Linked DNA regions of Homo sapiens: regions 2 and 3 are each linked to region 1. Evidence: promoter capture Hi-C in human tissues and cell types (Jung and others, 2019). All regions are on one chromosome and are shown on one strand. The core of a region is centred on a gene start or on the middle of the fragment in contact, and the rest is flanking DNA. Distances in the headings are between cores, read along the strand shown.

Region 1 (2,668 bases), core at 70-2,569:
TTAAGTCAATTAAAATTCTGATTTAAGTATTTGGAATTCAGGGAATCAAATTTTTCCTCTTTTGAGGAAATTATTCTTTTTTTCTTTTTTTTGGTTAAAGTTGATTTCACCAACTTTAAGATCCTCCCCAGTGGAAAACTGCATATATTAAACAACACATGGAAAGCAATAATAGCTAAACTTACCTGGCTATTACTGCCCACCAGGCACCATTTTATGTAATTATGCCCATAAACACATATTAAGCTCAGAATACTCTGCTGCAGATTTTTTAATATTCCCATTTTATTGATAAGGAGAAAGCGACAGAGTTGTTTCATAGTTAGTAATGTAGCAAGTTGTAAAGAGTTTCTGCTATAGCTAAATTTCCAGACATCTTTTAAGTCTCATACTTTGGGCTTTTACAAAATTTCTCCAATTAAAAGAATATTATCTGGGCCGGGCGCGGTGGCTCACGCCTGTAATCCCAGCACTTTGGGAGGCCGAGGCAGGCGGATCACGAGGTCAGGAGATCAAGACCATCCTGGCTAACACGGTGAAACCCAGTCTCTACTAAAAATATAAAAAATTAGCCGGGCGTGGTGGCGGGCGCCTGTAGTCCCAGCTGCTCCGGAGGCTGAGGCAGGAGAATGGCGTGAACCCGGGAGGTGGAGCTTGCAGTGAGCCGAGATTGCACCACTGCACTCCAGCCTGGGCGACAGAGCGAGACTCCGTCTCAAAAAACAAAAAACAAAACAAAACAAAAAAAAGAACATTATCTTAATTCTCATCATTAGCTTAGTTTGATGGACTATTTGCTTTATTTAACGGACCATTTGCTCATCTGCTCTATTTTGCTCACAAGGCAGAAAATATCAGAAGCAACAATATTTTGAAGTTTGCTTTCTTTCCTTCGGTTCAAATAACAAGAGTTAACCTGAGAGAGAGAAAGAAAAAGTAGGAAATTTAGAATTTGAAACCAAAGGGAAGGGACTGATATTTAACTTACCACAGTTTCTCCAACATGTATGCGATAACAAAAATATCTGATATTTGAAGACCTCATTTTTAAGCCCTAATCTTTGATATTATTTTTATAACTCGAGTGCCGTGACACCATCCCTGGGGCAACACGGTAGTGGGGAAATGGAGATATGCGCTATGCGTCAGACATGAAGGGTAAGGGAAGAATGCCGTCAACTCACAGGCACTGCTTGGGTGACAAAGGCTGGCAAGCGCGAGGACATCCGCAGGCAGCCAAAGGAGCAAGGACTTCCGTGAAGCAGCCGAAGCGCGGGCGCGGGGACTTCCGGGAGGCAGCTTGAGGCGCGTGTGGAAGCGCTTCCGGGCGGTAGCACGCTGTGTTGGCGGCGGCTCCCCGCTTGCCTCAGCTGCAGCAGCGGGAAGCTCGGTGGCAAGCCCTTGTAGTCCTGTGCGATGGCGTCTCGATATGACAGGGCGATCACTGTCTTCTCCCCAGACGGACACCTTTTTCAAGTTGAATATGCCCAGGAAGCGGTGAAGAAAGGATCCACCGCGGTGAGGAAGCAACTATTACCGGACTATTCCCCGCTCTGACCTGTCAGGCCATCGTTACCCTGCTGCCCCAGCCCACCTTTCCATCCTAGGAGCTCAAGAGAGGAGATTCCCACACTTGTGAAAATTACTTTGTTCTTTTTATTTAGGGAGACAGACTTCTAGATTTGGGCCGGAAGTGGGCAGAGTAAAAGTTAGTAGATTTCCCCTATCTCTGCTGTTCAACTGCCTCTGTTTCATGGTAGCTACAGACGCAAAACTAGGGTGTGTGTGTGGGTGTGTGTGTGTGTGTGTGTGTGTCTCTGTGTGTGTGTGTGTGTGTGTAGGGACGTTAATGATGTGATTGACAATAGGGAAAGCTTCTAATCTGTAACAGCCTACCTATTGAACGCTCGTGGTCCAGTTCCTTGGTAGTTCAGAGACCCCTGGAAAAGTTAACAGTTGCTTCATGTTGGGAACTGTTTTTTAATAACAGTTACAATAAAAAATAAAAGTTGGCCACACCTGCTCCCCAAATACGGACTAAATCAATATAAAATTAAACTTTTGTTGATGAAGAAATGATTAAAAACACAGTTCAAACACACGCGTTAAAAATATCCCAAAATTGCTGGGCGCAGTGGCTCACACCTGTAATCCCAGCACTTTGGAAGGCCCAGGAGGGCGGATCACCTGAGGTCGGGAGTTTGAGACCAGCCTGACCAACATGGAGAAACTCCGTCTCTACTAAAAATACAAAATTAGCCAGGCGTGGTGGCGCATGCCTGTAATCCCAGCTACTCGGGAGGCTGAGGCGGGAGAATCGCTTGAACCTGGGAGGCAGAGGTTGCGGTGAGCCGAGATCGTGCCATTGCACTCCAGCCTGGGCAACAAAAGCGAAACTCCGTCTCGGGAAAAAAAAAAAAAATCCCAAAATTGTCCCAATATTTCCCAGCCTTGTAGAGGCTCAAAAGTCCAAGAACTTCCACTTTTTTGGCCACTTAAAAAATAATGCTGGAAGTTCCTTGAGAGATTACACCCTACCTTAGATTTATGTATCCACATTACTGAAAAACTTAAAAAATACTCAGGGTAGGAGTAATACTGCTGCCAAGTTTTAACTACGTTCAATAATTTTAGTGATTTATAAAAATTAAAGAGGACAAAAGTGCCC
Region 2 (2,668 bases), core at 48-2,547, 63 kb before region 1:
ATTTCTTCAAAGTATGTTTGAGAAGGAAAAATCTGCATACACAAAAAAATAGTCACACTTTCTACTGGTAAAATTGTTCCTAGGTGCGGGGAGGGGATGAGGATTGAAAAATGACCTATTGGGTACAGTGTTCCTTACTGGGGGTAATGGGTACACTAAAAGCTCAGCCTTCACCACCACACAAGAAATCCACGTAACAAAACTGCACTTGTACCCACAAACCTATAAAAATAAATTAAAAATGGTTCCTAATTATGAAAATAAGTATGTCAATAGTTTGTTGTTTCAGAAAGTAAACACCAACTGAGAACCAACATTTAAATGATGCCTGCAAGGTTTACCAAGATAGGGCCCTATCTATCTACACTAAATGGAGCCAGAGTAGTGCACATTTTGAATTGTCAGCTTTTTATAAATTTTATGTCTATTTCTATGCCATCTTGGCTGTCAGGTAACACTGCATGTATATATGTCTGCTTATAGAACAACTTCTCCCATTTTTGCTATTTGCTGTCTCCTGGCTTAAAATTAAGAAAACAAGTCTGTTAAAATATGTGTAAGGTGAAGAGTAGTTCCCTTATAAAGTTATAATGCTTTGGCATTAAGAAAAAAGACACAAGGCTGAAACTAAGAAGTAAAATGCCTAAGTGTTAGTGCACTGGCATTAGAAGTTATTTTTCTCCTTTTATTCTCAGTGTTTAGATTCTTGACTTTTAGATTCTAGCTAGTGCTCGATCTTGGCCAGTTCCAAACACACGAAATAGAACTATAAATAAATAATTCTTCTCTTGAGATGACATGGGAAAAAACTGAAAGTTAAACTTATATATAATTATGAACACATTTCTAATTCCCACCCCATTCAACTGAAATGAAGTGAAAAACCCCATTCTAGAAAACTTAAGTAAAATCATCCTAAAACATAATAGTTTTTTCAGACTCAAGTATCTCAAACTATAGTTAGTAACATCCTCTCAGCAAAGAGCAGAAAATATTTTTAAAATGCCAGAGCAGATCTAAAAAAGAACTTATAGAAATTCTAGAAATAGAAAAATATATATTAGGAACTCAAGGGATAGGTATAACAGATTAGGCCCAGTGAAAAATGAACTGGAAAACTGGTCAGAAAAAAATATACTTAGAATGATAAATGGTTGGAAAAGTCTGAAGGGATTAAGAAACATAAAGATACAGTTACAAGGTCTAGTCTAAGTTTAACTGGAGTCTTATGGAAGAATTATTTGCTTGAAGAGATAATGACTGAAAACTCCCAAAACTGATGAAAGACATGAACCTACAGATGTCAGAAATCCCAACAGGCACCAAGCAAGATAATTAGAAAGAAATCTTCCAATATCTAACTACAGTGTGAGAAAAAATAAATTTAAGAAAACAGAAATCCACACCTAAACATACTAAAACCACTAAAAATCCTAGACAAAGCAAAACTCTTAAATGCAGTCAAATAAGCAGATTATGTTCAAAATATCAACAATTACATTGATATCTGAATTTTCAATAGATACAAGACAGAAAACAACGCAAGGATAAATGTAATGTGCTAAGTAAACAACAACTAACCTAGTATCTGTCCTTGGAAAATATCTTCTAAGAATCATGGTGAGCCAGGTGTGGTGGCTCATGCCTACAATCCCAGAACTTTGGGAGGCCAAGGCAGGAGAATCACTCGAGGCCAGGAGTTTAAGACTAGCCCGGGCGATATAAGACCCCATTTCTCCAAAAAATACAAAAATCAGCCAGGCATGATGGTGTATGCCTGTGGTCCTAGCTTCTCAGGAGGCTATGGCAGGAAGATTTCTTGAGCCCAAAAGTTCGAAGCTGCAGTGAGCTATGATCATGCCCCTATGCTCTGGCCTGGGTGACGGAGTGAAACACTGTCTCCAGAGGAAAAAAAAAAGAATGATGGTGAAATAAAGGCATTTTCAGACCCAGACCAAAACAAAACAAAAATACTGAAGGTATGTCTCACCAGCAAAGCAGTGCTAAAGGAAATACTAAGGAATGTTCTTTAGGAGGTGAAAAAAAAAGTGATCTAAGCTAGAAGGTCATAAATGAAAGGAGGAACAGAAAGCATCAGAAATGGTAAGTAACTATGTGGATGATCTAATGAACACTGACTTCAAAAAAAAGACAGTAATAACAACCACTTGTGGAAACATATAGAGACTTAAAATACATTACAACAACAACGAAAAGGTCATTGAGGGAAGGAACAGAAATGAAGTATTTTATGGTCCTTTGATTGGGATGTATATTATAATCTATACAGTAACCACTAAAAGAATAGTAAATATGTAAGATTTCCCAACTAGAAAGAAAAAAAAGGAATAATAAAAAACAAATTAATTATTGGCCGGGCACAGTGGCTCACACCTGTAATCCCAGCACTTTGATTGCTAGACTGAGTTAAAAAAAAAAAAAAAAATCTACATCCTACTCATAATATCGTTATCTCTAACACAAGAAAACAGAAAGGAGGATAATACCATGCAAACACCAAAGAAAGCTTATTTAGCTATGCTAATATCAGATAAAGTAGACTTTAAAAGCATTACTAAAGATAAGAAGGGATAATTCACAATGATGTTGCAGGCGGCGCGCAGCACTTTGGGAGGCCAAGGCAGACGGATCACGAGGTCAGGAGATC
Region 3 (2,668 bases), core at 69-2,568, 33 kb before region 1:
TCTTTGGATTATGCAAAGAAAAATGAACGCAAATATAGACTTACAAGACATGGCCTGTATGAGAAGAAAAAGACCTTAAGAAAACAGCAAAAGAAATGCAAGAACAGAATGAAGAAAGTCAGGTGGACTGCAAAGGCCAATGGTGCCAGCAAAAAGTGAGCTAGAGATTGGGTAACAGTAGGAGTATGGATTCTGCAATGACTAATGACTTCATCTGTGCTGACTGCATAGATTTTTCACAAAAGGATTAATAAACTGAAAAAAACTTAAGAATTAAAGAAAAACATGAAAACAATGTTTCTCACCCCCAAAAATATTAAGATAAATATTATTAAAAACCACAAAAAACAAAAAAATCATTGAAATGCACAAAATCTAAAATAAAAAATTCATGAGAAAGGTTCAAAAGCAGATTAGAACTAGAAGAAAAAACATCAGTAAACTGCAGATATGTCAAATGAGATTATATAGTGTGAGAAACAGAAAAAATAATTAGGAAAAAGTTAACTTCATTTAGCCAGGGATGCAGGTATGGTTCAACATACATGAGTCAATAAATGTGATATATCACATTAACAGAACAAAGACAAAAACCATATTATCATTTCAATAGATACTAAAAAAGCATGTGATAAAATTCAACATCCCTTCCTTCATGAAAAAAAAAAAACCCAACAAACTGGGTATAGAAGAAACATACCTCAAAACAATAAAGGCCATATATGACCAACCTGCAGCTAACATCATACTAAACAGGGAAAAATTGAAAGCCTTTCCTCTACAATCTGGAAAAAGACAAGGATGTCCACTTCCACTACTCCTATTCAAGATAGTACTGGAAACCCTAGCCAGAGCAGTTACACAAGAGAAAGAAAGACAGGGCATCCAAATTGGAAAGGAAAAAGTCAAATTATACTTGTTTGCAGAACCATGATTTTATATTTAGAAACATATAAGATCGAATACAGTAAAGTTGCAGGATACAAAATCAACATACAAAAAAGTAGCATTTATATATGCAGTGAACAATCTGAAAAAGAAATCAAGAAAACAATCCCATTCACAATAGTTACCAAACAAAACAAAATATAAGAATAAATTTAAGCAAAGAAGTAAAAAAATCTACAAAGAAAACTGTAAAACACTGATGAAAGAAATTGAAGAGAACACCAAAAAATGAAAAGATATTCCATGCTAATGAATTAGAAGAATTAATACTGTCAAAATGTCCATACTATCCAAAGTGATCTATAGATTCAATGCAATCCCCATTAAAATACCAGTGACATTCTTTACAGAAATAGAAAAAAAACTGTATGAAACCACAAAAAGATCCTTAATACTCAAAGCAATCTTAAGCTTTGAAAGAAAAGAAAAGAAAGAAAACCAAAGAAAGAAACCAAAAGAAAGAAACGAAAGAAAGAAAACCAAAGCTGGAGGCATCCCACTATCTGACTTCAAAATATACTATTAATACAAAATGTATTATTAATACTATTAATACAAAATATACTATTAATACAAAGCTATAGTAGCCAAAACAACATGGTACTAACATAAAAAGAGACATGGTACTAACATAAAAACAGATGCATAGACCGATGGAACAGAATAGAGAAGCCAGAAATAAATCCACATATCTACAGTGAACTCATTTTCAACAAAGGTGCCAAAAACATACATTGGGAAAAGGACATTATCTTGAATAAAATGTGCTAGGAAAACGGGATAACCACATGCAAAATGAAACTAGACCCCAATCTCTCACCATATACAAAGTCAAATCAAAATGGATTAAAGAGTTAAATGTAAGACATGAAACTACTAGAAGAAAACATTGGGGAACGCTTCAGAACACTGATCTGGGCAAGATTTTTTTTTTAATTTTTTTTTTTTGAGACAGAATCTTGCTCTGTTACCCAGGCTACATTGCAGTGGCATGATCTCGGCTCACTGCAACCTCCGCCTCCCAGGTTCAAGCAATTCTCCTGCCTCAGCCTCCCAAGTACCTGGGATTACTGGTACATGCACCACCACGCCCAGCTAATTTTTGTAGAGACAGGGTTTCACCATGTTTGCCAGGCTGGTCTCAAACTCCTGACCTCATGATCCGCCCACCTCAGCCTTCCAAAGTGCTGGGATTACAGGCATGAGCCACCACGCCCGGCCGGGCCAAGATTTTTTGGATAAGACCCCTGAAACACAGGCAACAAAAGCAAAAATAGACAAATTGGATTATATCAAGCTAAAAAACTTCTGCACAGCAAAGAAAACAATCAAGAGTGAAGAGTCAACCTAAGGAATGGGAGAAAATATTTGCAAACTATTCATCTGATAAGGGATTAATAACCAGAATATATAAGGAACTCAATAGCAAAAAAGCAAATACAATCCAATTTTTAAATGAACAAATGATCTGATAGGCATTTCTCAAAAGAATACACGCAATTGATCAACTCCACTAATCACTGAAGAAATGTAAATCAGAATCACAGTGAGATATTATCTCACCCCAGTTAGAATGGCTATTTTCAAAAAGACAAAAGATAATTGTGGTAAAGATGTGGAGAAAGGAAACTTACACACTGCTGAGGGAAATGTAAATTAGTACAGCCATTATGAAAAAACGTATGGCGGCTCCTCGAAAAAAACCTAAAAACAGTACTAC

What was found. The method cuts DNA at HindIII sites, captures the fragments that hold promoters and counts their contacts. A contact is called where the count stands out against the background at its distance.
Region 2: a contact is called between a fragment that was not itself captured here and the fragment with the promoter of PSMA8 in region 1, in 2 of the 25 tissues and cell types used here (pancreas and stomach).
Region 3: a fragment that was not itself captured here is called in contact with the fragment with the promoter of PSMA8 in region 1 in 3 of the 25 tissues and cell types used here (H1 embryonic stem cells, spleen and stomach).

The regions. Positions count from the first base shown.
Region 1 is chr18:26,132,550-26,135,217 of GRCh38, forward strand. PSMA8 (proteasome 20S subunit alpha 8) reads left to right here and starts at 1,320. Exons shown (of 7, transcript NM_001025096.2): 1 at 1,320-1,518. The coding sequence starts at 1,417. The HindIII fragment of the contact is 10,391 bases long and covers 1-2,668 here.
Region 2 is chr18:26,069,926-26,072,593 of GRCh38, forward strand. The region is part of intron 3 of SS18 (SS18 subunit of BAF chromatin remodeling complex); the gene reads right to left. Among named protein-coding and RNA genes, the nearest start is that of SS18, 19 kb to the right of the region's middle. The HindIII fragment of the contact is 5,655 bases long and covers 1-2,668 here.
Region 3 is chr18:26,099,068-26,101,735 of GRCh38, forward strand. It overlaps the pseudogene RPS24P18. Among named protein-coding and RNA genes, the nearest start is that of SS18, 9.8 kb to the left of the region's middle. The HindIII fragment of the contact is 5,582 bases long and covers 1-2,668 here.